7 separate regions of the Homo sapiens genome follow, and all the other regions are linked to region 2. Evidence: promoter capture Hi-C in 16 types of primary human blood cells and fetal thymus (Javierre and others, 2016). All regions are on one chromosome and are shown on one strand. Each heading gives the region's core, a stretch centred on a gene start or on the middle of the fragment in contact. The rest is flanking DNA. Distances are from core to core; before and after follow the strand shown. Region 1 holds the start of IFNL2 (interferon lambda 2). Region 2 holds the start of EID2 (EP300 interacting inhibitor of differentiation 2). Region 3 holds the start of NCCRP1 (NCCRP1, F-box associated domain containing). Region 4 holds the start of ZNF546 (zinc finger protein 546). Region 5 has its middle 12 kb from the start of ACP7. Region 6 has its middle 11 kb from the start of SYCN. Region 7 overlaps ACP7 (acid phosphatase 7, tartrate resistant (putative)).

Evidence for each region. Contacts are between HindIII fragments. The CHiCAGO score rates a contact against its expected background, and 5 or more counts as called.
Region 1: a contact is called between the fragment with the promoter of IFNL2 here and the fragment with the promoter of EID2 in region 2, in 10 of 17 cell types (neutrophils, total B cells, M2 macrophages and 7 more). The highest score is 23.6, in neutrophils.
Region 3: a contact is called between the fragment with the promoter of NCCRP1 here and the fragment with the promoter of EID2 in region 2, in 5 of 17 cell types (M2 macrophages, monocytes, M0 macrophages and 2 more). The highest score is 7.5, in M2 macrophages.
Region 4: a contact is called between the fragment with the promoter of ZNF546 here and the fragment with the promoter of EID2 in region 2, in 3 of 17 cell types (total CD8 T cells, erythroblasts and endothelial precursors). The highest score is 5.5, in total CD8 T cells.
Region 5: a fragment that was not itself captured here is called in contact with the fragment with the promoter of EID2 in region 2 in 2 of 17 cell types (naive CD8 T cells and total CD8 T cells); the score reaches 8.5 in naive CD8 T cells.
Region 6: a contact is called between a fragment that was not itself captured here and the fragment with the promoter of EID2 in region 2, in 2 of 17 cell types (M2 macrophages and neutrophils). The highest score is 8.1, in M2 macrophages.
Region 7: a fragment that was not itself captured here is called in contact with the fragment with the promoter of EID2 in region 2 in 11 of 17 cell types (neutrophils, naive B cells, total B cells and 8 more); the score reaches 16.0 in neutrophils.

The regions. Positions count from the first base shown.
Region 1 is chr19:39,267,001-39,269,944 of GRCh38, forward strand. It overlaps IFNL2 (interferon lambda 2), which reads left to right and starts at 1,396. Exons shown (of 6, transcript NM_172138.2): 1 at 1,396-1,578; 2 at 1,677-1,858; 3 at 2,152-2,229; 4 at 2,488-2,637; 5 at 2,738-2,821; 6 at 2,915-2,944. The coding sequence starts at 1,569. The HindIII fragment of the contact is 23,103 bases long and covers 1-2,944 here.
Region 2 is chr19:39,538,341-39,541,534 of GRCh38, forward strand. It overlaps EID2 (EP300 interacting inhibitor of differentiation 2), which reads right to left and starts at 1,821. Exons shown (of 1, transcript NM_153232.4): 1 at 367-1,821. The coding sequence starts at 1,739. The coding sequence ends at 1,029. RefSeq lists a silencer at 1,526-1,605 and an enhancer at 1,577-2,076. The HindIII fragment of the contact is 1,343 bases long and covers 892-2,234 here.
Region 3 is chr19:39,195,318-39,198,505 of GRCh38, forward strand. NCCRP1 (NCCRP1, F-box associated domain containing) reads left to right here and starts at 1,647. Exons shown (of 6, transcript NM_001001414.2): 1 at 1,647-2,002; 2 at 2,736-2,798; 3 at 2,885-2,936. The coding sequence starts at 1,666. The HindIII fragment of the contact is 37,818 bases long and covers 1-3,188 here.
Region 4 is chr19:39,995,212-39,998,309 of GRCh38, forward strand. ZNF546 (zinc finger protein 546) reads left to right here and starts at 1,849. Exons shown (of 7, transcript NM_178544.5): 1 at 1,849-1,946; 2 at 2,650-2,704; 3 at 3,037-3,098. RefSeq lists enhancers at 997-1,498, 1,484-1,663, 1,499-1,998, 1,671-1,965 and a silencer at 2,784-2,883. The HindIII fragment of the contact is 5,081 bases long and covers 890-3,098 here.
Region 5 is chr19:39,070,439-39,073,821 of GRCh38, forward strand. No RefSeq gene overlaps it. Among named protein-coding and RNA genes, the nearest start is that of ACP7, 12 kb to the right of the region's middle. RefSeq lists an enhancer at 3,009-3,383. The HindIII fragment of the contact is 4,805 bases long and covers 1-3,383 here.
Region 6 is chr19:39,213,907-39,217,191 of GRCh38, forward strand. No RefSeq gene overlaps it. Among named protein-coding and RNA genes, the nearest start is that of SYCN, 11 kb to the left of the region's middle. The HindIII fragment of the contact is 6,255 bases long and covers 1-3,285 here.
Region 7 is chr19:39,107,333-39,110,633 of GRCh38, forward strand. ACP7 (acid phosphatase 7, tartrate resistant (putative)) reads left to right here. Exons shown (of 13, transcript NM_001004318.3): 13 at 2,721-3,301. The coding sequence ends at 2,786. Among named protein-coding and RNA genes, the nearest start is that of PAK4, 17 kb to the right of the region's middle. RefSeq lists an enhancer at 3,102-3,171. The HindIII fragment of the contact is 5,363 bases long and covers 1-3,301 here.

The sequences.
Region 1 (2,944 bases), core at 146-2,645, 270 kb before region 2:
TGGGCTCAGAGGCTCATGCCTGTAATCCCAGCACTTTGGGAGGACGAGGAAGGTGGATCATGAGGTCAGGAGTTCAAGACTAGCCTGGCCAGCATGGTGAAACCCTGTCTCTACTAAAAATACAGAAATTAGCTGGGCATGGTGGCACATGCCTGTAATCCAAGCTACTCAAGAGGCTGAGGCAGGAGAATCACTTGAACCCAGGAGGCAGAGGTTGCAGTGAGCTGAGATGGTGCCTCTGCACTCCAGCCTGGGCAACAGAGCGAGACTCCATCTCTCTTGCTCACTCACTCTCTCTCATGCTCTCTCTCTCTCTCTCTCTCTCTCTCTCTCTCTATATATATATATATATATATATATACACACACATATATGCCTCTGGCCGGGCGCGGTGGCTCACGCCTATAATCCCAGAACTTTGGGAGGCCGAAGAAGGCAGATCACGAGGTCAGGAGTTCAAGACCAACCTGGCCAATATGGCAAAACCCCGTCTCTACTAAAAATACAAAAATTAGTTGGGCGTGGTGGTGCATGCCTATAGTCCTTTCTACTCGGGAGGCTGAAGCAGAAGAATCCCTTGAACCAAGGAGGTGGAGGTTGCAGTGAGTCGAGATCACGCTGCTGCACTCCAGCCTGGGCTACAGAGCAAGACTCCATCTCAAAAAAAAAAGAAAAAAGAAAGAAAGAAAGAAATCATGGCCTCTGGGCACAGTGGCTCATGCCTGCAACCCCAGCAATTTGGGAGGCCAAGACAGACAGATCACTTGACGTCAAGAGTTCGAGACCAGCCTGGCCAATTGGTGAACTGTCATCTCTACTAAAACCATAAAAATTAGCTGGGAATGGTGGCACAAATCTGTAATCTCAGCTACTTGGGAGGCTAAGGCAAGAGAATCGCTTGAACCCAGGAGGTGGAGGTTGCAGTTAGTCAAGATTTTGCACTGCACTCCAGCCTGGGTGACCGAACAAGACCCTGTCTCAAAATATATATATATATATATGCCAGGAGGGGTGGCTCAGGCCTGTAATCTCAGCACTTTAATAGGCTGGGTGAGGAGGATGGCTTGAGCCCAGGAGTTTGAGGCTGCAGTGAGCTGTGATCATGCCATTGCACTCCAGTGACAGAGTGAGACCCTGTCTTAAACAACAACAAAACCAGAGCAGGTGGAATCCTCCTGGGAACATACCTTCCTGTAGGTTACCCCTGAGTCTCCATCAGTTTCTCTTTCCCTCCAGCTGCTCATCTGGCTCACTAGCCCTGCCCTGCTCTGGGCTTTCCCAGCCTGGGGCTCCCCTGGTGGCCGGTGTCTTACCTGAGGCTGTGTTTTCACTTTTCCTACATCAGCTGGGACTGCCCTTCTGTCAGGGATAAAAGCTGCCCCATGGAGCTCAGGCAGGAATTACATCCCAGACAGAGCTCAAAACTGACAGAAAGAGTCAAAGCCAGGACACAGTCTGAGATCCAGAAGAGGGGACTGAAAAGAACAGAGACTCCAGACAAGACCCAAACAGACCCTGGGTGACAGCCTCAGAGTGTTTCTTCTGCTGACAAAGACCAGAGATCAGGAATGAAACTAGGTGAGTCCCACATCTCTGTCCGTGCTCAGCTCCTGCAGCCCCTGCCCTCAGTGGGCAGCCTCTCCATCCCCTCAGCTCCCTTTCTCTCTGTGACACAGACATGACTGGGGACTGCACGCCAGTGCTGGTGCTGATGGCCGCAGTGCTGACCGTGACTGGAGCAGTTCCTGTCGCCAGGCTCCACGGGGCTCTCCCGGATGCAAGGGGCTGCCACATAGCCCAGTTCAAGTCCCTGTCTCCACAGGAGCTGCAGGCCTTTAAGAGGGCCAAAGATGCCTTAGTGAGTCTCCCCCTGCCCTCCTGCCATGGACTAGCCTCCACCCCCACTCCAAGCGTCACCATGCTTTCCCACTCCCAGCTTCCTTCACTGGGCTAGCCTCCACCCTCCCTGCAGTGGGCTATCTCATGCTCCTACTGTAGGGACTGACTCATGTTTTCCTGTAGAAGAGGGTCCTCTACCATCCTCCCAGCAGTTAACCTCCCCTATCCTGTTGTCAGCCATCCTCCAATCCCACCAGGATGGTCTAACCTCCACCCCTCCTGCTGGGGCTAACCTGTGCCTTTGCTGTCTAGGAAGAGTCGCTTCTGCTGAAGGACTGCAGGTGCCACTCCCGCCTCTTCCCCAGGACCTGGGACCTGAGGCAGCTGCAGGTGAGAGGGGGAGTCAGGCCCACCCCTGCTCTCCCAGCCCCACTCACCTGGCTCTGTAGTGGCCCCTTCACCGTCTCTTTCTCCCTTGTCTCTCTCTCTTCTCCTCACACCTGCTCTCCCTTCCCTCCGCTCCCACCTGACCACACTGGCTGTGCCCTCTCCCCTGTGCCTGTCACCTTCACTTGTTCCTCTCTATCCTGCTCCCCAACCTGTTCCCCTCACCTCCCCCCTCACCTGCTCTTTCTCACCTCTCCTCAGGTGAGGGAGCGCCCCATGGCTTTGGAGGCTGAGCTGGCCCTGACGCTGAAGGTTCTGGAGGCCACCGCTGACACTGACCCAGCCCTGGTGGACGTCTTGGACCAGCCCCTTCACACCCTGCACCATATCCTCTCCCAGTTCCGGGCCTGTGTGAGTCGTTGGGGCCTGGGCACCCAGGTCTGTGAGCTCTGAGCAGCGTCCTTCCCCTTGCCAAGGCCCCGGCTCACACACCGCCCTCCTCTGCCCACAGATCCAGCCTCAGCCCACGGCAGGGCCCAGGACCCGGGGCCGCCTCCACCATTGGCTGTACCGGCTCCAGGAGGCCCCAAAAAAGGTGAGTGACCCGGGAAGAGAGGGACTGAGGTCTGGGGAGCCACTGGGAGCCCAGAACCCAGACAGCCCCTGACCCATCCCCTCCTCCCTACAGGAGTCCCCTGGCTGCCTCGAGGCCTCTGTC
Region 2 (3,194 bases), core at 571-3,070:
GTACAAGATGAACTACTCTAGCAATTTTTTATTCTGCCCAAAGAAAGAGATGGGAAACAACCTAAATGTCCGTCAATATATCCCTGGTTAAGTAAATTTGGACATAACCTCAGAATGGAATAAAATGCCACTTTAAAAAATAATGAGGAAATACAGTGGTTTGGAAGGGTCAACATATGTTCTTAATGAGAAAGCAATGTATAAACCAGTAAATATAATATGCCGACTTCTGTGAAGAAATAAAACAAGTAAACCCAGATTTATATGTGCCTGTGTACACGTAAGGAAACTAGAAGGACGGAAAGGAAACTGTGGCTATTAGAGGTCATCGTTGGTACTGGATGGAGGAAAACAAGAATGGAAGGCTTTTCGCTGTATATTTTATATATTTTTTGGCTTGTGAATAGATTTTTTAATACCAAAAAAACTTTAAAAATTAAAAATTGAAAGAAAAAAGTCCAGAAATTTGACGTTCTTGAAAACATGATTTATCACATAATATATACATTTACTTTGCTTGTCACTTGAAATGCCTAAGAAAACACAAAATCAATCTTAAACTAGAAACTTCTATTGAATATGACATGAAGAGAGCACATATTCCGACAATTTCAAGTTCTTTTCATAGCCTTCCAGTCCTAATAACTCAGCGTTAACATCTTATTCTGTTCAGCACTATTTGATAATTTCTTTCATCCTCATGGGCTCTAGTATTGATGTTTCATCAGTCTCAATTTTATAAAACCATCCTTTACTTTGTAATAAAGCAATGCTGAGAGACATTTTCCATAATGCAGGGGGAAAAATGTGGATCAATCACAAACTCAAAGAACGTTACAGTTATAATGCTTTCGACATTTTTTTCTACTTCTGTGATGCTTTTTCAAGATAAGCTTCCCCCTCCCCCTTTTTTTCCCCTCCACCTGTGCACTGTCTTATCGCGATATACTCTTGACTTCTGAAAATCAAGTTGCAGGATTGGTATGACTGGAATGCAGAGGTTCTCTTGAAGTAGTGTCACCACATAACTATTCTCTATTGATAAACTTATCGCAACCAAGTTCTTCTATCAGAGGGTTGATAACTTCAGAGGCAGTCAGAGCTATCGTAAAGGTTAAAATATCGAGGTCCACCCTGTGAGGATTTCGCTGATATTCGGCATCAAACGCTGCTTCCCTTGCTCTGCAGGCTTCCACGAATCGCCTGCGGCGTTCTTCAAGCTCTTGTATTCTGCCGGGAGCAATCGGGTAATTTTCCAGATAGTGGCGGAGAAACTGCTGGTAATTGATGCCTAAAACGCTAAGTGGGTGGCGGAGACGGAGATAGGGCAACGCAGCCAGGCCTCCGTTCCCGTGTCTGGACCTGGGCCTGCCCTCGGGACCCTCTTCGTCCACTGGCTCCCCCAGCAAGCGGGCGACCTCCGCCATCCGGGCTTCCCTGGCCGCCGCCGCCGCCGGGCTTTCCCTGCCCGCCGCGGCTGCCCTGGCCAACGCCGCCGCTGCCACCGGGGCTCCCCTGGCTGCCGCCGCCGGGGCTGCCCTGGCCGCCGCCATCCGACCTTCCCTGGCCGCCGGCACCGGGCCTCCCCTGGCCGCCGCCATCGCGCCTTCCCCGGCCTCCTCAGGCTGTGCCGGGGCCGGCTCCCGCCTCCCGCGGCCTACCTCCGCCTGCGGGACGTCTCTGTCACCATTCGCCGCGCCTGTCTGCGGGACACTGCTGTCTGCGGGCAGCTTGGACATCTCAGACCGTGGGGTCAACTCGGCTGCTCCCAGAGAAACTGGAATAACTGGACAGAGCGATGCCCGGCGGACACCCCAGTGCGCGTGCGTGGGCGCTATGCGCGCTGTAAATGCAGTGTGCGTAACCGGGCGCGAGAGCATAGATTCTTACCGCAAACCCTGGGAGCAGTGCGCATGCGTACTTTCCCGGCGCCCGCCGTTCTCCAGATGCCCCCTCGAGGCCGGGAAGCGCCAACGCATCTGAAACATCCCAACGACGAAGGGCGGGGGACATTTCAACCAGTTTGATGTTTATGAGGAACGCTTACAAGATCGCTTCTTGTAGGCGTTCTCAAGGTTCTGTCCTAGGGTGTTTCTCTTTGTTCTCCAGTGATTATGTGCCACCTCTATTATATATCAAGATATTTTAGATTCATGGTCTTTTCTGGATTTTTAAATTGTTTTTCATTCATTCCTTTGCCTGTCTTCATCCATACGGATCGTCCTAGCTACCAAAGCTTTGTAATTACAGTCTTTTCGTGTTATCTTTAACATTGCATTGACTACCTTGGACATTTGTTTTTCGAATCTTATTTGTGCAATATAACATGCAGAAAAGTAAACAAAACATAAATATACAGCTGAATGATTTATCACAAAGTGAACATCCGTTTAACTACCACACAGTCCAAGAAGTGGAATATTTCCAGCATCCCAGAACCCTTCCTCTTCTTCTTATCACTATCCTTTCCTTTCTACGCAGAAGTAACAACTATGCTGATACTTATGGTAATCACTTTCTTGTTTTTCTTTTCATTTTACCACCTAAGGGTGCATTCCTAATGCTGTAGTTTAGTTTGGTTTGTATTCTGAACTTTATCTATGTGAGAAACACACTCACCTGCGTAATTTTTGTATTTTTAGTAGAGACGAGGTTTCACCATGTTGGCCAGGATGGTCTCGATCTCTTGACCTCGTGATCCGCCTGCCTCGGCCTCCCAAAGTGCTGGGATTACAGGCGTGAGCCACTGCGCCGGCCACTTTCTTCCCTTTTATGGGCTGACCCCGCCTCTACATTCTGTTCCCTTATTGTGACCTTCTAGGTGGATGAGCCCTGCAGTTTGTTATATTTGCAGGCTGGCTGCCAGTACTTAGATTTATCATGCCTCAGAAATGGACCATTTAAAATGTTTTCTCACATACACACTTGTATCTGTTTTTTTGTGCATTATTTTTATGAGATTCATCCATTCACATTTTCTCTTCCTCCCTCCCTCCCTCACTCCCTTCCTTCCTTCCTTCCTTCATTCCTTCTTTCTTTCATCTCATTCTGTTACCCAGACTGGAGTGCAGTGGCACAATCACAGCTCAACGTGGCCTCAACCTTCCGAGCTCAAATAATCCTCCCACTTCAGTCTCCTGAGTACCTGGGACTACAGGTGTACACCACCACACCCAGTTAATTTTTAATTTTTT
Region 3 (3,188 bases), core at 397-2,896, 340 kb before region 2:
TGAGTGTCTGTGAGTGTCTGAGCGTTGGGGCAGGAAGTGCCTGTGAAAGCATGTGGAGTTATCTGGGACTATATGGGACCCAGCCTGGGAAGGCAGCTTCTGTTTCCATGGCACCCCTCACAGGGTTGTTGTATTGGAAAGACCCGTCCCAGAGGGCATCCGCCAGCACACAGCTGCACACACATGTTTGCTGTTACTTTTCCTTTACCTATAAAATGCCAGTCATAGTAGCACCCACCTTGTCTTTGTAGGAGAATGAAATGAACTTAGAGGCGCTCAGTAGAAAGCACTCACGCCTGTAATCCCAGCACTTTGGGAGGCCAAGGCAGGTGGATCACTTGAGGTCAGGAGTTTGAGACCAGTCTGATCAAGAGGGTGAAACCTCGTCTCTTCTAAAACTACAAAATTAGCTGGGTGTGGTGGCACATGCCTGTAATCCCAGCTACTCGGGAGGCTGAGGCAGGAGAATCACTTCAACCCGGGAGGCGGAGGTTGCAGTGAGCTGAGATCGTGCTTCTGCACTTCAGCCTGGGTGACAGAGTGAGACTCCATCAGAGAGAGAGAGAGAGAGAGAAGCAAGCGCTCAGTGCTGAGCTTACCTGGGCCAGGTAGAGGGATGTGGCCACGGGCAGGAAGTGGCTGTGGGAATCTGGCGCTACAGGTTCCTCTGCCACCCCACTTCCTCCACACCTGACCTCCTGTCCCCACCTGTGCCCCGTCCCTTGCTCCCACCTCCTCGTGACCTCTGATGGGGGAGGCTTCTGCAGCCCCCCACCCCAGTCCCAGGCAGGGGTGCAGGCCCCCAGAACACCCAGTTGGGATCACTGCTTCCCTCTCACTGCCATCTTTGTGCCTCCCTGGGGTCCCCCATCTCTGAGGCTCCTCATCTCTGGTTTTGGGTGTCTCTCTGCTCTCCTCACCTTGGTTTTCTGGACAGTATGTGTCAGGGCCCCAAGGGGGTGTCCCAGGTGAGGACAGAGAAGGAAGTGGCAGAGGCAGGACCTTCCCTTTGCACCTCAGCTCATCCATCCACTCCCCCTCTGCAGAGTGGGGAGGGGGAGGAGGGGGGTCTTCGTTAATTAGCCTCTTAATCCTGCCATGCTGGATCTTAATGAGGTGCACGGGTCCCATTAGACAGCCCGGAGCCCTGGCATTAGCACATTAGTCACACGCTCTGTCAGGCTCACGCTGGGTCCTCAGCTGGCCCTGGGAAAATTGGGGCAGGAAGTCTGGGGACCTAAGGAGGGGGCTGGTGCCTGGACTTCTGGGTCTGAAGAAGGAGGGGCTGGTGCCTGGACTCCTGGATCTGAGGGAGGACGGACTGGGGGCCTGGATTCCTGGGTCTGCGGGAAGAGGGGCTGGTGCCTGGACTCCTGGGTCTGAGGGAGGAGGGGCTGGGGTCTTGAATTCCTGGGTCTGAGGGAGGAGGGGCTAGGGGCCTGGACTCCTGGGTCTGAGGGAGGAGGGGCTGGGGTCTTGAATTCCTGGGTCTGAGGGAGGAGGGGCTAGGGGCCTGGACTCCTGGGTCTGAGGGAGGAGGGTCCGAGGGACAAGATCCTCCCCCGACACGCCCCTCTCTTAAATGTCAGCCAGGGTGCCCTGCCCCTTCCCGCTCCCAGTTAACCCCAGCCCTGTGAAACCGGGACAGTCGCGCAGCCTCGAGGGATGGAGGAGGTGCGTGAGGGACACGCGCTCGGTGGCGGGATGGAAGCCGATGGGCCCGCGAGCCTCCAGGAGCTGCCTCCCTCGCCACGGTCGCCTTCACCGCCGCCGTCGCCGCCACCACTGCCCTCGCCGCCGTCGCTGCCATCGCCCGCAGCCCCGGAGGCCCCCGAGCTCCCCGAGCCGGCGCAGCCGTCCGAGGCTCACGCCCGGCAGCTGCTGCTGGAGGAGTGGGGGCCGCTGAGCGGGGGCCTGGAGCTGCCCCAGCGCCTCACCTGGAAGCTGCTCCTGTTGCGGCGGCCGCTCTACCGCAACCTGCTGCGCTCGCCCAACCCCGAAGGTGCGCAAGGGCCCAGAGCAGCCAGGAGGCACCACCCTGACCGTCTGTCTCTTCCTCTTTCCCTGTTTCCTTATCTCTCTACCTCTTTGTCTCTCTCTGTCTATGCATTTCTCTGCATCCCTCTGTCTCTTTTTCTGTCATTGTGCCTCTCCATTTTACCACCTGTCTCTCTGTCATGTCTCTTACCTACCTCTCTCACACCTCTCCCTCACACCTCTCCATCTCTCTTTCTCTCTCCTCCTCTCTCTCTCCCCCTCTGCCTATGTTTCTGTCTCTTGAGACGGAGTCTTGCTGTCGCCCAGGCTGGAATGCAGTGGTGCAATCTCAGCTCACTGCAACCTCCGCCTCCCAGGCTCAGGCAATTCTCCTGCCTCAGTCTCCCGAGTAGCTGGGATTACAGGCATGCACCACCATGCCTGGCTAATTTTTGTATTTTTAGTAGACACAGGGTTTCGTCATGTTGGCCAGGCTGGGCTGGTTTCAAACTCTTGGCCTGTCTCTTTCTCTGGGTTCTTCTCTCTGTCCCTCTGTCTCTGTCTGTCTCACCACACCCCACTTACCCCTGGCATTGCCCTCTCCCCAGCCCAGAGCCCTGACTCACTCATCCCTGCCGGGCTTCCCTGACCTGGCACAGATTCCTGCCCTTCCAGTGTATAGCCCTGCGGGTAGGGAGGGGTGAGGCGGTGGAAGATGGAGGGGCTGCCCAGAGGCTCCACTCACCTGTCCATTTCAGGCATCAACATTTATGAGCCAGCACCCCCTACTGGTCCCACCCAGCGACCCCTGGAAACTCTGGGTAAGTGCTTGGAGGGCCAGGTTGCTGAGGGTGGGGAGGGTCCTCCAGCGTTGGGGTGTCCTAACCCTTTGCTCCCCAACCTGCAGGCAATTTCCGTGGCTGGTACATTAGAACTGAAAAGCTCCAGCAGAACCAAAGGTGAGTCGCCAGGGCCAGTGTGGCTTACACTCCATTCCCTGCTCCACCCTTCCTCACTGTGAGACCTGGAGAAACTGACTTGGCCTCTCTGGACCTCCATTTCCTGCTCTGTAAACAGGGTTAGCATAAGAGAGAATGCTTGTAAAACACACAGCATAGGGCCCGGCCAGGTCTGGCTAGCACCAGTCAATAGCAGCTATTATTGGTTTTTGGTTTTTGTTTTTAAGATGAAGTCTCACTCTGTTGCCCAGA
Region 4 (3,098 bases), core at 599-3,098, 460 kb after region 2:
TATATCCATACCCTCACCAACCCTTGTCGTCTTTTGTCTCTTTGATTACAGCTATTCTAACACTGTGAGGTGGTATCTCAGTGTGGTTTTAATTTGCATTTCTCTGATGATTAGTAATGTTGAGCATTTTTTCATATGGACACTTTTTTTTTTTTTTTTTAAAGATGGAGTCTCACTCTGTCACCCAGGCTGGAGTGCAGTGGCGCGATCTAGGCTCACTGCAACCTTCGCCTCCTGGGTTCAAGCAATTCTCCTGCCTCAGCCTCCTGAGTGGCTGGGATTACAGGACCCACCACGCACCACCACACCCAGCTAATTTTTGTATTTTTTTAGTAGAGACAGGGTTTCACCACGTTGGTCAGGCTGGTCTCAAACTCCTGACCTCACGATCCGCCCACCTCGGCCTCCCAAAGTGCTGGGATTATAGGCATAAGCCACCGTGCCCAGCCTTATATTGACACATTTTTAAGGGATTTGGGGGGGGGCAGGGGTTCTTTGCAACAATGTAAACATCCAGTCCCTCATCAAACTTTCAATTTTTTTTCACGTACTAATTTATATCAGTTTGGAATTATGATTCCCTCTGTTATTTAATGGGTTTTAATCTATAACTAGCATTATTTATTTTGATGCTCAAACCATGTCAAGTTTGGTCAGTGGAAGTCCCTTCAATCTGGTTTCCATGTCCTTTGAACACGTCCCCACCATTCTTTGAGCACTGCCTTACTTTCAAGCACAAGATGTTCCAAGTTCATTCTGAACTTTCCCTTCCCCAGCTCTGGAATCTGCCATTTCTCCATGGAGCCTTGCTCCTTTCAGTGGAGCATGGTATTTAGGAACCAAGGGCTGACTGCCTAATGTGCTTTCCAAGTATAATTTCCTCAGTCCAAGCTTTTCAAATTGATCTGCCAAAGACCCATTGCCAAAGATCCATTGCCAGAATATAAGAGTGGAAGGAAATTCTTAATATTTTTTGAAAGTTACTATTATTTTCATTTTTCTCTTTGTAAAAAATTCATTTAATTCAATATAAAAAGACAAAAATCTTTGGCACATAAATCGCAACTCTCTGATGCAAATGTTTAAATAAAGCTGATACTCCAAGAAGACGCAACATATTCTCTTTATCCCACAGACATATAGGCCTATGGTTGCAAACTTTTATACACACACAGAGTCACAATTCCACTGGCACCCGTGATGTTCCACATCCAGATTTTCCAAATCACACATTCTCATCTTCACATAGCCTTGCCGGCAACCACACGGCATAGTACCACATTGTTACGTCAAGCACAGCCAGTCTACCACAGAGCCTGTCGTCCCATTGACCAAAGTCACAAAAATCACAGCCCCGGGTATTTACTGTGGTTTTCTCCAGTCAGATCCCTTCACTCACTACACACTGACTCACACTCAAATTACACACACGCGGAAACACAACCCGCCAGAGCCAGAGAGGTTCCGTCGGTCCCGCAACCCTCACAGTGCCACACACACGCGCTCACAAGGCAAATACAAATGGCCAGGCACTCATTCTTTACAATACACATATTAAGCGCCTATTATGTACTACACGCCGGGACTACCTCAAGAGGTGAAACAAACAAAATCCTGCCTGGCGGAGCTATCGCCCAGTCCCGCACGCACTCGGCCTCAGGGTCACACTCGGCGGTCCCACGCTCAAGTGGCCCGGCCAGTGGCCCAGAGGCGTCTGTTCTCCTCCTCAGCTTCCTGCGTGGGTTCCTGGTAAGTGAGTCGAACCCGCCGGATGCGCGCGCGCCTGCGCCTCCGCCCAAAAGGATCAGTTTCCGGCTGTGGACTACATTTCCCAGAAGCCCCTTGGGCAGTGTTGCCTGGACCCCAAGGGCCCTTTACATTGCGTTCTTAACGGTTCAGTCACCTTAACCGTTATTATTCACTTGCGGGCGAGAAGTCCGAGCTAGGTGAGGCGGAACGGGACTCTTACGAGTAGGACTGGGGATAGAACTGCCGCCCAAAGTGAGGCGCTCCAGGGCCCAGACCTGGCGTGTCGTGCCCGCAGGGAGCCTCAGGCCTGTGCGTGCTTGGGGAGCGGAGAAGGGAAATTGTGTGACAAAATGTGGCAGACGGTGTATGTGTGTGTGTGCGCGCGACGGGGCGCCTGTCAGGACCGGGTTGGGCGGGTGTGGGTGCGGGTGTGAGGCTGAGACAGGTGCCTGGCTCTCTGGTGTGTGTCACTGACCCTCTACCCTCCTCACGGCCTCGGTGTTTGCACACAGCAGTGTCCCCAAGAGGGAAGTCAAATATCGAGCTCTGGGATGAAGGTTCCCAGCAAGAAGGTACAGACCTGGGTTGGCGATTGGACTTTTGAATTAGAAGTGTCCCTAAAACAGACTCCTGGGACGACAGGTTGGAAGACTGCGCAGTTGGAGCCGCTGTGTGGGCAGCTGCATGTTTCAGAACCACTGCATTCCCATACCTTTGATCTAGAAACCTGGTGTGAGTTCAGAGACAGATCCCAGCCTCACTCTCACACAGCTGTTATGTGCGTGAGGTCAGCACAGATGTGGCGCTGGAGGGGATATTCTAGGTCGGTCTGTGCTCTTAAGAAAGGCCTGCTGTCTCATGATTATTTTTCTTCCCCCATTCTGCTATTCATCAAAACAGGGATCCTGAAAAGGAGGGAACAATTGTTGTAGCAGGTCTAAAAGTTCAGGTCCAGGTAAGTTTATATTTCCTTTTTATTCATAAAATGGAAATCACACATTCTAATCCTCACACAGCCTTGCCTGCACCCAGTCATACGGCGTGGTACCACACTGCTATGTCAAGCACAGCCACAATCTACCACAGAGCCTGTCACCTCATTGCTCACAGTCACAAAAATCACATCCCCAGGTACTTTCTGTAGCTTTCATTTGCATTTTTCCCTTTGAAGAAGTTCATTTGATTCAATCTAAAAAGACTAAATTATTTGTCACATAAATTGCAACTCTCTGGTCTATATCTTTAAGTAAATCTTTAAATAAATGCATAAAATGTTTTTGTTTTTAGGAAATGGAAACATTGCTTTGCTTTTCCTGAATTGTCCAGTGACCTATCCCAGGCCTTCCTTT
Region 5 (3,383 bases), core at 447-2,946, 470 kb before region 2:
ACACCTGGCTAGTTTTTGTATTTTTTTGTAGAGACGGGGTTTCACCGTGTCACCCAGGCTGATCTCGAACTCCTGAGCTCAAGCAATCTGCCCACCTTGCACTGTGGCCTCCCAAAGTGCTGAGATTGCAGCTTGAGCCACTGCACCCGGCCTTTGTTTTGTTTTTTAAGTTGAGGAGAGTATGGCTGGGTGAACATGAACCACATTCTTCCTTTCTTTTTAACCAGAGACAGGGTCTCACTACATCACCCAAGCTGCTCTTGAACTCCTGGGCTCAAGAGATCCTCCCACCTCAGCCTCCCAAAGTGCTGGGAGCCACCACACCCGGCTCACATTCCTGTCTATACTTGACTTGCCTTGACCATGGCAGAGAGCCTGTTCTCCCTGCGAGACCTGCCATGGACCATGGCAGAGAGCCTGTTCTCCCTGAGTGACCTGCCATGGACCCAGGGGTATACTCGTTTCCCTCTAGTAACTGTGCTGCTGGGCCCACGCCTGAGAGCCTGTGGAGGGCTGGGGTGTTCCTGGAGGTAGGATACACAGAGCTGACCACACTCCTGCTGACCATGCACAGCGTGACCCACGCTTCAGCCCTGACAGATCCCCCAGTTGGTGGTGAGTCATGTGCCCTCTAGGACTCAACTCCTGTTCTCACCCACTGAACTCACGAGGAAGGATTAGTGTAGACCCTCAGGGAAGATCACACCAGATTTGATCTTGATATGACCCAGCTCATCCTTCACACAGCAGGGGCCAGGCTGCCCTTTCCTCACACAGAAGGATGAGCCTTGCTCTCCAGTGGGTTTTTATTTATTTATTTACAGACAGGATCTACCAAGGCTGGAGTGCAGTGGTGAGATCTTGGCTCACTGCAACCTCTGCCTCCCTCCCAGGCTCAAGTGATCCTCCCATCTCAGCTTTCTGAATAGCTGGGACCACGGGCACACACCACCACACCTGGCTAATTTTTGTATTTTTTGTAGAGACGAGGTTTAGCCATGTTGGCCAGGCTGGTCTCAAACTCCTGGGCTCAAGCGATCGGCCCGCCTCGGCCTCCCAAAGTGCTGGGATTACAGGCGTGAGCCACTGCGTCCAGCCTAATAAGATATTTTTTAAGGCAATTTTTTGGGGGGGACAGGGTCTTGCTCCGTTGCCCAGGCTGGAGTGCAGTGGCATGATCACAGCTCACTGCAGTCTCCTGGGATCAAGTGATCCTCTCACCTCAGCCTCCCGAGCACACCCCCGTAGGACTTTAAAATCTTCCAACACTCCTCAATGTGACTACAGTGGAAAATGGTGTACCCAACAATGGTACAATAAATAGTTGGGGCCAGGCATGGTGGCTCACACCTGTAATCCCAGCACTTTGGGAGGCCGAGGTGGGCAGATCATTTGAGGTCAGGAGTTCAAGAGCAGCCTGGCCAACATGGTAAAACCCTGTCTCTACTAAAAAAAAAAAAAAAAAAAGTCCGGGTGCAGTGGCTCACGCCTGTAATCCCAGCACTTTGGGAGGCCGAGGCAGGTGGTTCACGAGGTCAGGAGATCGAGACCATCCTGGCTAACAAGGTGAAACCCCGTCTCTACTAAAAAATACAAAAAAAAATTAGCCGGGCATGGTGGCGGGCACCTGTAGGCCCAGCTACTTGGGAGGCTGAGGCAGCAGAATGGCATGAACCCGGGAGGTGGAGCTTGCAGTGAGCCGTAATCGCGCCACTGCACTCCAGCCTGGGCAACAGAGTGAGACTCCGTCTCAAAAAACAAAAAACAAAAATTATCCAGGCATGGTGTCATGTGCCTGTATTCCCAGCTACTTGGAAGGCTGAGGCAGGAGAATCACTTGAACCCAAGTAGCAGAGGTTGCAGTGAGCCAAGATCACACCACTGTGCTCCAGCCTAGGCGACAGAGCAAGACTCTGTCAAAAAAAAAAAAATAATAATAAAATAAAAATAAATAAATAGTTGGGCCAATATTTATAAGAGCTCATGTTTGTTTGAGGGTTTAGTCTGTCCCTGGCCTCAATTCCGGATTTTATGGAACTGTTATGTCCACCTGATGATACAGTGATGCTTGGAGGCCACGTGCAGTGGCTCACGCCTATAATCCCAGCACGCTGGGAGTCCAAGGCAGGTGGATCGCTTCAGCCCAGGAGTTTGAGACCAGCCTGGTCAGCAAGGCGAGACTGTGTCTACAAAAAATTTTTAAAAATCAGGTGGGTGAGGTGGTGTGAAACTGTAGTCTCAGCTACTAGGGAGGTTGAAGTGGGAAGATCACTTGAGTCCAGGAGTTCGAGGCTGCAGTGAGCTATGATCATGACACTGCACTGCAGCCTAGGCAACAGAATGAGACCCTGTCTTAAAAAACAAAATACATGGCCAGGAAGGGTGGCTAACGCCTGTAATCCTAGCACTTTGAGAGGCCAAGACAGGTGGATCACCTGAGGTCGGGACTTCGAGACCAGCCTGACCAACATGGAGAAACTCCGTCTTGACTAAAAATGCAAAATTAGCTGGGCGTGGTGGTGCATGCCTGTAATCCCAGCTACTCAGGAGGCTGAGGCAGGAGAATTGCTTGAACCCCGGAGGCGGAGATTGCAGTGAGCCAACATTGCGCCATTGCACTCCAGCCTGGGCAACAAGAGCAAAACTTCATCTTAAAAAAAAAAAAAAGAAAAGAAAAAAAGACAAAAACAAAACCATGCTGGGAGATGACACAGGACCTGAGGCCTGAAATCCAGGATGAGATGGCAGAGGGATGAATCGGAGACAGTGGGGCCTGGTGGTTAAGGCCAAGTGTGCAGAAAGGAATGAATCTCAGGTTTTTTGTTTGTTTGTTTGTTTGTTTTTTGACACAGAGTCTTGCTCTGTTGCCCAGGCTGGAGTGCAATGGTGCAATCTCAGCTTACTGCAACTTCCACATCCCAGGTTCAAGAGATTCTCTTGTCTCAGCTTCCTGAGTAGCTGGGAACACAGGCGTCCATCACTATGCCTGGCTAATTTTTGTATTTTTAGTAGAGACAGAGTTTCACCATGTTGGCCAGGCTGGTCTCGAACTCCTGACCTCAGGCGATCCACCCGCCTTGGCCTCCCAAAGTGCTGGGATTACAGGCATGAGCCACCGCACCTGGCTTAGCTATTCTTCTTACTGACAGTGTGATGTCAGGTAAGTGAGCTCACTCCTCTGAACCTCAGTTTCCTCTTCTGTAATACAAAATGGGACCATGTGAAGTGGTGAGGAATCCATGCAATCATACACGGTTCACAGGAAGCCTCCAGTGAACTGGCTGTGGCTGTGATTATGAGGTGAAGTGTGGGGTGGGCTGTCCTGGGTCCGTCACAGGAAGCCTCCACATCTGAGAGGGTGAGTCACTCTTCCTTCCTGCTGT
Region 6 (3,285 bases), core at 616-3,115, 320 kb before region 2:
AAGCAATCCTCCTGTCTCAGCCTTCCCAGTAGCTGGGACTATGGGTGCATGCCACCATGCCCAGCTAATATTTTTTCTTTTTGTAGAGATGGGATCACTCACTGTGTTGCCAAGCTGCTTTCAATCTCCTGGGCTCAAGTGATCCTCCTGCCTCGGCCTGCTAAAGCACTGGGATTTCAGGGGTGAAGCGCTGCTCCCAGCCTATTATATCTTTCATGCTTGCTTTCTTTATTCTTTTTTCCTTTGAGTTTTTTGTTTGTTTGTTTGTTTGTTTGTTTTTGAAACGGGGTCTCGCTCTGTCATCCAAGCTGGAGTGCAGTGGTGCGATCTCAGCTCACTGCAACCTCCGCCTCCCAAGTTCAAGGGATTCTCCTGCCTCAGCCTCCCAAGTAGCTGGGACTACAGGCATGTGCCACCATGCCCAGCTAATTTTTTGTAGTTTTAGTAGAGATGGGGTTTCACCATGTTGCCCAGGCTGGTCTTGAACTCCTGACTTCAAGTGATCCACCCACCTTGGCCTCCCAAAGTGCTGGGATTACAGGCATGAGCCACCATGCCTGGCCCTTTTCTTTGAGTTTTGCGTGCTGTTCTTTTCCTCACATTTAAGATAGATGGTTAGCTGGCTTATTTTCAGCCTCGTTCCTTTTCCCACATTTGTATTTAAGGCTTTACACTTTTTTTGTGGGATTGTTGTGTGTCTTACATAAGCAAAAAGTATAGTGGGTTGAGGTTATTTCAGGCACATGGAAAGTGCTCAGTGTGTTTACTGACATGGATGATGGTTTTGATTATTATTTAATTTATTTATTTATTTTGAGACAGAGTCACACTCTGTTGCCCAGGCTGGAGTGCGGTGGCGCGATCTCACCTCACTGCAACCTCCACCTCCCGGGTTCAAGCAATTCTCCTGCCTCAGCCTCCTGAGTAGCTGAAATTATAGGTGTGCACTACCACACCTGGCTAATTTTTGTATTTTTTAAAATAGAGATGGGGTTTCCCTATATTGGCCAAGGTGGTCCCGAGCTCCTGATGTTAGGTGATCCACCTGCCTCAACTTCCCAAAGTGTGATTATTATTATTCTTATTAATCAGGAGCTTTAGAGTCAGAGAAAGATTCAAGCAAGAAGTTTGGATTAATTATGAATCAGTTTCCTATTGCTGCCGTAACAAATGATTGCAAACAGTGCTTTACAACAACACAGATTCATTATCTCACAGTCCTGGAGGTTGGAAGTCCAAAATGAGTCTCCTTTGGCTAAAATCAAGGTGTCATCGGGCTGCCTTCCTTCTGGAGGCTCCAGGGGAGAATCCTGTTTCTTGCATTTTCCAGATTCTAGAGGCCACTTGCATTCCTTAGCTTGTGGCCCCTTCCTTGTTGAAGTCAGCAACAGAGAATCTTTAAATCCCTCTATGACTCTGTCCTTTTCTGCTGCCTGCTCTTCCACTTTAAGGGATCCTTACAATTACTCTGGTCCTACCCACATAATCCAGGATAATTTCCTTTGTTGTTGTTGTTTTTTGTTTTAAAGACACGGAGTCTTACTCTGTTGCCCAGGCTGGAGGGCAGTGGTGTGATCACCACTCACTGCAGTCTTGATTACCCAGGCTCAAGCAATCCTCCTGCCTCAGCTGCCTGAGTAGCCGGGACTACAGGTATGCACCACCACACCTGGCTAATTTTTGCATATTTTTGTAGAAACAGAATCTTGCTATGTTGCCCAGGCTGGTCTCAAACTCCTGGGCTCAAGTGATCCTCCAGCCTCAGCCTCCCAAAGTGCTGGGACTACAGGCATGAACCACCGCACCCAGCCTAGAGTCCATGTTTTTAGCCACTCAGCTCCAGGATACACTGAGCCTGGTTGCATAGTCAATTTCTTTTCTTTTCTTTTTTTTTGAGATGGAGTGTTGCTCTGTCGCCCAGGCTGGAGTGCAGTGGCATGATCTCAGCTCACTGCAACCTCAGCCTTCCAGGTTCAAGAAATTCTCCTGCCTCAGCCAGCCTCCCAAGTAGCTGGGATTACAGGCACGTGCCACCATGCCCAATTTCCTTATTTTAAAATCAATGGGACATGCGTGGTGGCTTATGCCTGTAATCCCAGCACTTTGGGAAGCCGAGGCGGGCAGATCACTTGAGGTCAGGAGTTTGAGACCAGCCTGGCCAATATGGTGAAACCCCATCTCTACTAAGAATACAAAAAATTAGCTGGACGTGGTGGCATGCACCTGTAGTCCCAGCTACTCAGGAGGCTGAGGCATGAGAATCGCTTGAGCCCGGGAGACAGAGGCTGTAGTGAGCCAAGGTCACACCGCTGCACTCCAACCTGGGTGACAGAGTGAGACTGTCTCAAAAAAATAAAATAAAATAATGATTAGTGACTTTAATTCCATCTGCAACCTTAACTCTTCCTTGCTGTGTAACATAATATATTCGCTAGTTCTGAGGACACCTCGGGGGGCTGTTATTCTGCCCAAAAATTAGTATTTTGTTTTACAAATGAGGAGTATTCTTGTCTTTCATATGAAGGGAGACAGCTACCAAGGCTGTCTGGGGCTCCAGTGTCAGGGCCCAGGCTCCTTCTGTCTTGTTGCTCCAGCATCAAATGTGGCTTTTTCTTGTGGCCCAATATGGCTGCTTGAGCTCCATCCTTCCCATCTACATCCCAGTCAACATGTGGAGGAAGGGAGGGAGGGAAGAAGAAGGAAATGCTCTTCCAGGAGCATGGTACATGACACTCCTGTCTACATCTTGCTGCCAGAACTTAGCTAGAGATGGGCACTCAATGCCTCAAAAAGATGGATCTAGGCCAGGCGCAGTGGCTCACACCTGTAATCCCAGCACTTTGGGAGGCCGAGGCAGGCGGATTACGAGGTTAGGAGTTCAAGACCAGCCTGGCCAAAGTGGTGAAACCCCATCTCTACTAAAAATACAAAAAATTAGCTGGGCATGGTGGCAGGTGCCTGTAATCCCAGCTACTCAGGAGGCTGAGGCAGAAGAATTGTTTGAACCCAGGAGGCAGAGGTTGCAGTGAGCTGAGATCGCACCACTGCACTCTAGCCCGGGCGACAGTGCGAGACTCCATCTCAAAAAAAAAAAAAAAAAAAAAAAAGATCTGGCCTTGGGTTAGCTGTATGCCTGGTCACAAATCAAATTTCCTATTACTGAAGGAAGAACAGATATTGAGGCCATGTCACAGATTGAAGGAATAAGAAGCACATTGAAGGGATGACAGAGTCAGAGAGGACATAGATGTCCAGGAAAAAGTGGAATCCAGCCTTTCTACAATC
Region 7 (3,301 bases), core at 301-2,800, 430 kb before region 2:
AGCACTTTGGGAAGCCGAGGCAGGCGGATCACAAGGTCAGGAGATCGAGACCATCCTGGCTAACATGGTGAAACCCCTTCTCTACTAAAAATACAAAAAAAATTAGCCAGGCGTGGTGGCAGGTGCCTATAGTCCCAGCTACTCGGGAGGCTGAGGCAGGAGAATGGCGTGAACCCGGGAGGCAGAGCTTGCAGTGAGCCGAGATCGCACCACTCCAGCCTGGGCGACTGAGCAAGACTCTGTCTCAAAAAAAAAAAAAAAAAAAAAATTAGGCCAGGTGCGGTGGTTCATACCTGAAATCCCAGCACTTTGGGAGGCTGAGGTGGGCAGATCACTTGAAGTCAGGAGTTAGAGACCAGCCTGGCCAACATGGTGAAACCCCGTCTCTACTAAAAATACAAAAATGAGCTGGCCATGGTGGCGGGTGCCTGTAATCCCAGCTACAAGGGAGGTTGAGGCAGGAGAATCACTTAAATCTGGGAGGTGAAGTTTGCAGTGACCCAAGATGGCACCACTGCCCTCCAGCCTGGGAGACAGAGTGAGACTCTGTCTTGGAAAAAAAAGGAAAATTAGTCAAGTGTGGTGGCAGATGTCTGTAGTCCCAGCTACTTGGGAGGCTGAGGCAGGAGGATCACTTGAGTGCAGGAGTTAGAGTTTGCAGTGAGCTATGATCTCGCCTCTGTACTCCAGCCTTGGCAACAGAGTGAGACCCTAACTCAAAACAAAAAAACGAACAAATGTGGACTGTAGAACTAGAAACCTGCTCCTGCTGCTTACCAGCTGAGTGACCTTGAGTCACTCATCTAATTTTTTTTTTTTTTTTTTGAGATGGAGTCTCGCTCTGTCACCCAGGCTGGAATGCAGTGGTGCAGTCTTGGTTTACTGCAACCGCCACCTCCCAGGTTCAGGCAATTCTCCTACCTCAGCCTCCCGAGTAGCTGGGATCACAGGCGCCCACCACCACACCCGGCTAATTTTTTGTATTTTTAGTAGAGACAGGGTTTCACTGTGTTGGCCAGAATGGTCTCGAACTCCTGACATCAGGTGATCTGCCTGCCTCAACCTCCCAAAGTGCTGGGATTACAGGTGTGAGCCACTGTGCTGGGCCCACTTATCTAACTTCTTTGCCTCAGTTTTCCCATCTGTGAGAGGGGATAATCATAGTTTCCACCTCACAGGACTACATGGGGGTTGAAGGACTTATTATATATAAAATGCTTAGAAGAGTGCGGAACTTGGTAAATTCTGTAGGTATTTACCATTGTGAGGCAGGGGAAGATAAAGATGGGGGGTGGGACACAGGTAGGGGAAAACAATAAGATGAGTATGTGGTACAGGTGGCTTAAGGTTAGGTGGATCCAAATAATAATGGCTCACCTTTCTTTATTTTTGCCATTGTAGTTTTAAAATAATGACAATATTTATGATTTATTGAGCACCTACTGCATACCAGGCACTGCCTAGATGCTCTGCATTTAGTAGCACTTTATTTATTTATTTGTTTTTGAGACAGAGTTTCACCCTGTCGCCCAGGCTAGAGTGCAGTGGTGCAATCTAAGCTCACTGCAACCTCCACCTCCCAGGTTCAAGCAATTCTCCTGCCTCAGCCTCCCGAGTAGCTGGGATTACAGGCACATGCCACCACACCCGGCTAATTTTTTGTATTTTTAGTAGAGATGGGGTTTCACCATGTTAGCCAGGCTGGTCTTGAACTCCTGACCTCAGGTGATCCACCCACCTGGGCCTCCCAAAGTGCTGGGATTACAGGCATGAGCCACCGCATGCGGCCCCAGTAGCACTTTATACACCAAAACAATCCCACAGGAGTGGATTTCCTCTCCATTTTATAGGTGAGGGAACTGAGGCTCAGAGAGGGGAAGTAATTTTCCCAGGGTCACACAGTTGGAGGACGGCCAAGCTGGGATCTGATAGCTACCATTTATCGAGTGGCACATGCACCGGGCGCAGACTTTTGTGTGCATGATCTCACTCTGTTCTCATGATGACTCTGGGCATCTATTACTTTGTGCATTGCATAGAACATGGAAGTTTTGCTCAGAGAGTCCAGCAACATGCTTAAGGCCACCTAGAGGGTGGATGCGCTGGCCAGGTGCAGCAGCTCATGCCTTTGGGAGGCTGAGGCAGGCGGATCACTTGAGGTCAGGAGTTCGAGACCAGCCTGGCCAACATGGTGAAACCTTGTCTCTAGTAAAAATACAAAAATTAGCCAGGCATGGTGGTGCATGCCTGTAATCCCAGCTACTTGGGAGGCTGGGGCAGGAGAATGGCTTGAACCTGGGAAGCGGAGGTTGCCACTGCACTCCAGCCTGGGTGACAGAGCAAGACTCTGTCTAAAAAAAAAAAAAAAAAAAAAAAAGGAGAGAGAGAGAAAGAGTGGATGTGCTGGAATATAAAGCAAGGTCTGTCTGACTCCAGAGTTTGTGCTCTAATAATAGCCTACACTTACATAGCCCTTTCCATATGCTGGGCTCTGTTTACAAATACTATCTCATTTAACTCCCACAACATCTATGATGTGGGTACTGTTACTCTTCCTATCACTTTTCAGATGAGGAAAACTGAGGCCCAGAGAGGCCTAGCCACTTGCTCAGGGTTGTACAGCCCATCAGAGGGCAGAGAGGGGACTGGAACCCAGGCCATGTGGCCCCAGAGTTCAGGCTTTCAGCTCTAACTACTGTCCCTGTTTTTGTCCCTCACAGGATGGGAAGATCGTAGATGATGTCTGGGTGGTGAGACCCCTGTTTGGCCGGAGGATGTACCTCTAGGGATGGCGGCAGCTCTCCTCCAGAAGCCTAGGTTTTGCCGCCTTGGCTGCTGTGACCAGAAACTGCCCAGGCCTGGGTGGGGAGTTGGGTGGGCCCTGACTCCCCTGCCCTCCAGAGGCCCCATGTAGGGTACATGCAGCCCTATGGAGCTGGGGCAGCTGTTCCCTCCTGGAGAGGTGGGAGTCCTGGCTGGCTGTGGAGGGAGGGCAGGTGTGCGGGCACAGAGTGACACACGGCAGGTTTCTGCTGGCAGGGCCCCACCCTCCTGCATAGCTCTGATCGGGCGAGGTGCCCACGGGGCTTCAGGAATGAAGAGGCTTAAGCTCTGGCTCCATGGATTCTGCACATCTGCGGGGGATGCCGCTGGGCTTCCTCCTCTCCTGCCCACCTGGCAAGGGCATCGCCAGGTGGGCACAACCGTCATGACACTACTCACCAGCAGGTGGCGTCAGGGGCTTTTTCTTCTGAGCCCGGCACTGAGAGTTGGTCTGAAGCCTGGCTCCTTCTTCACTGCT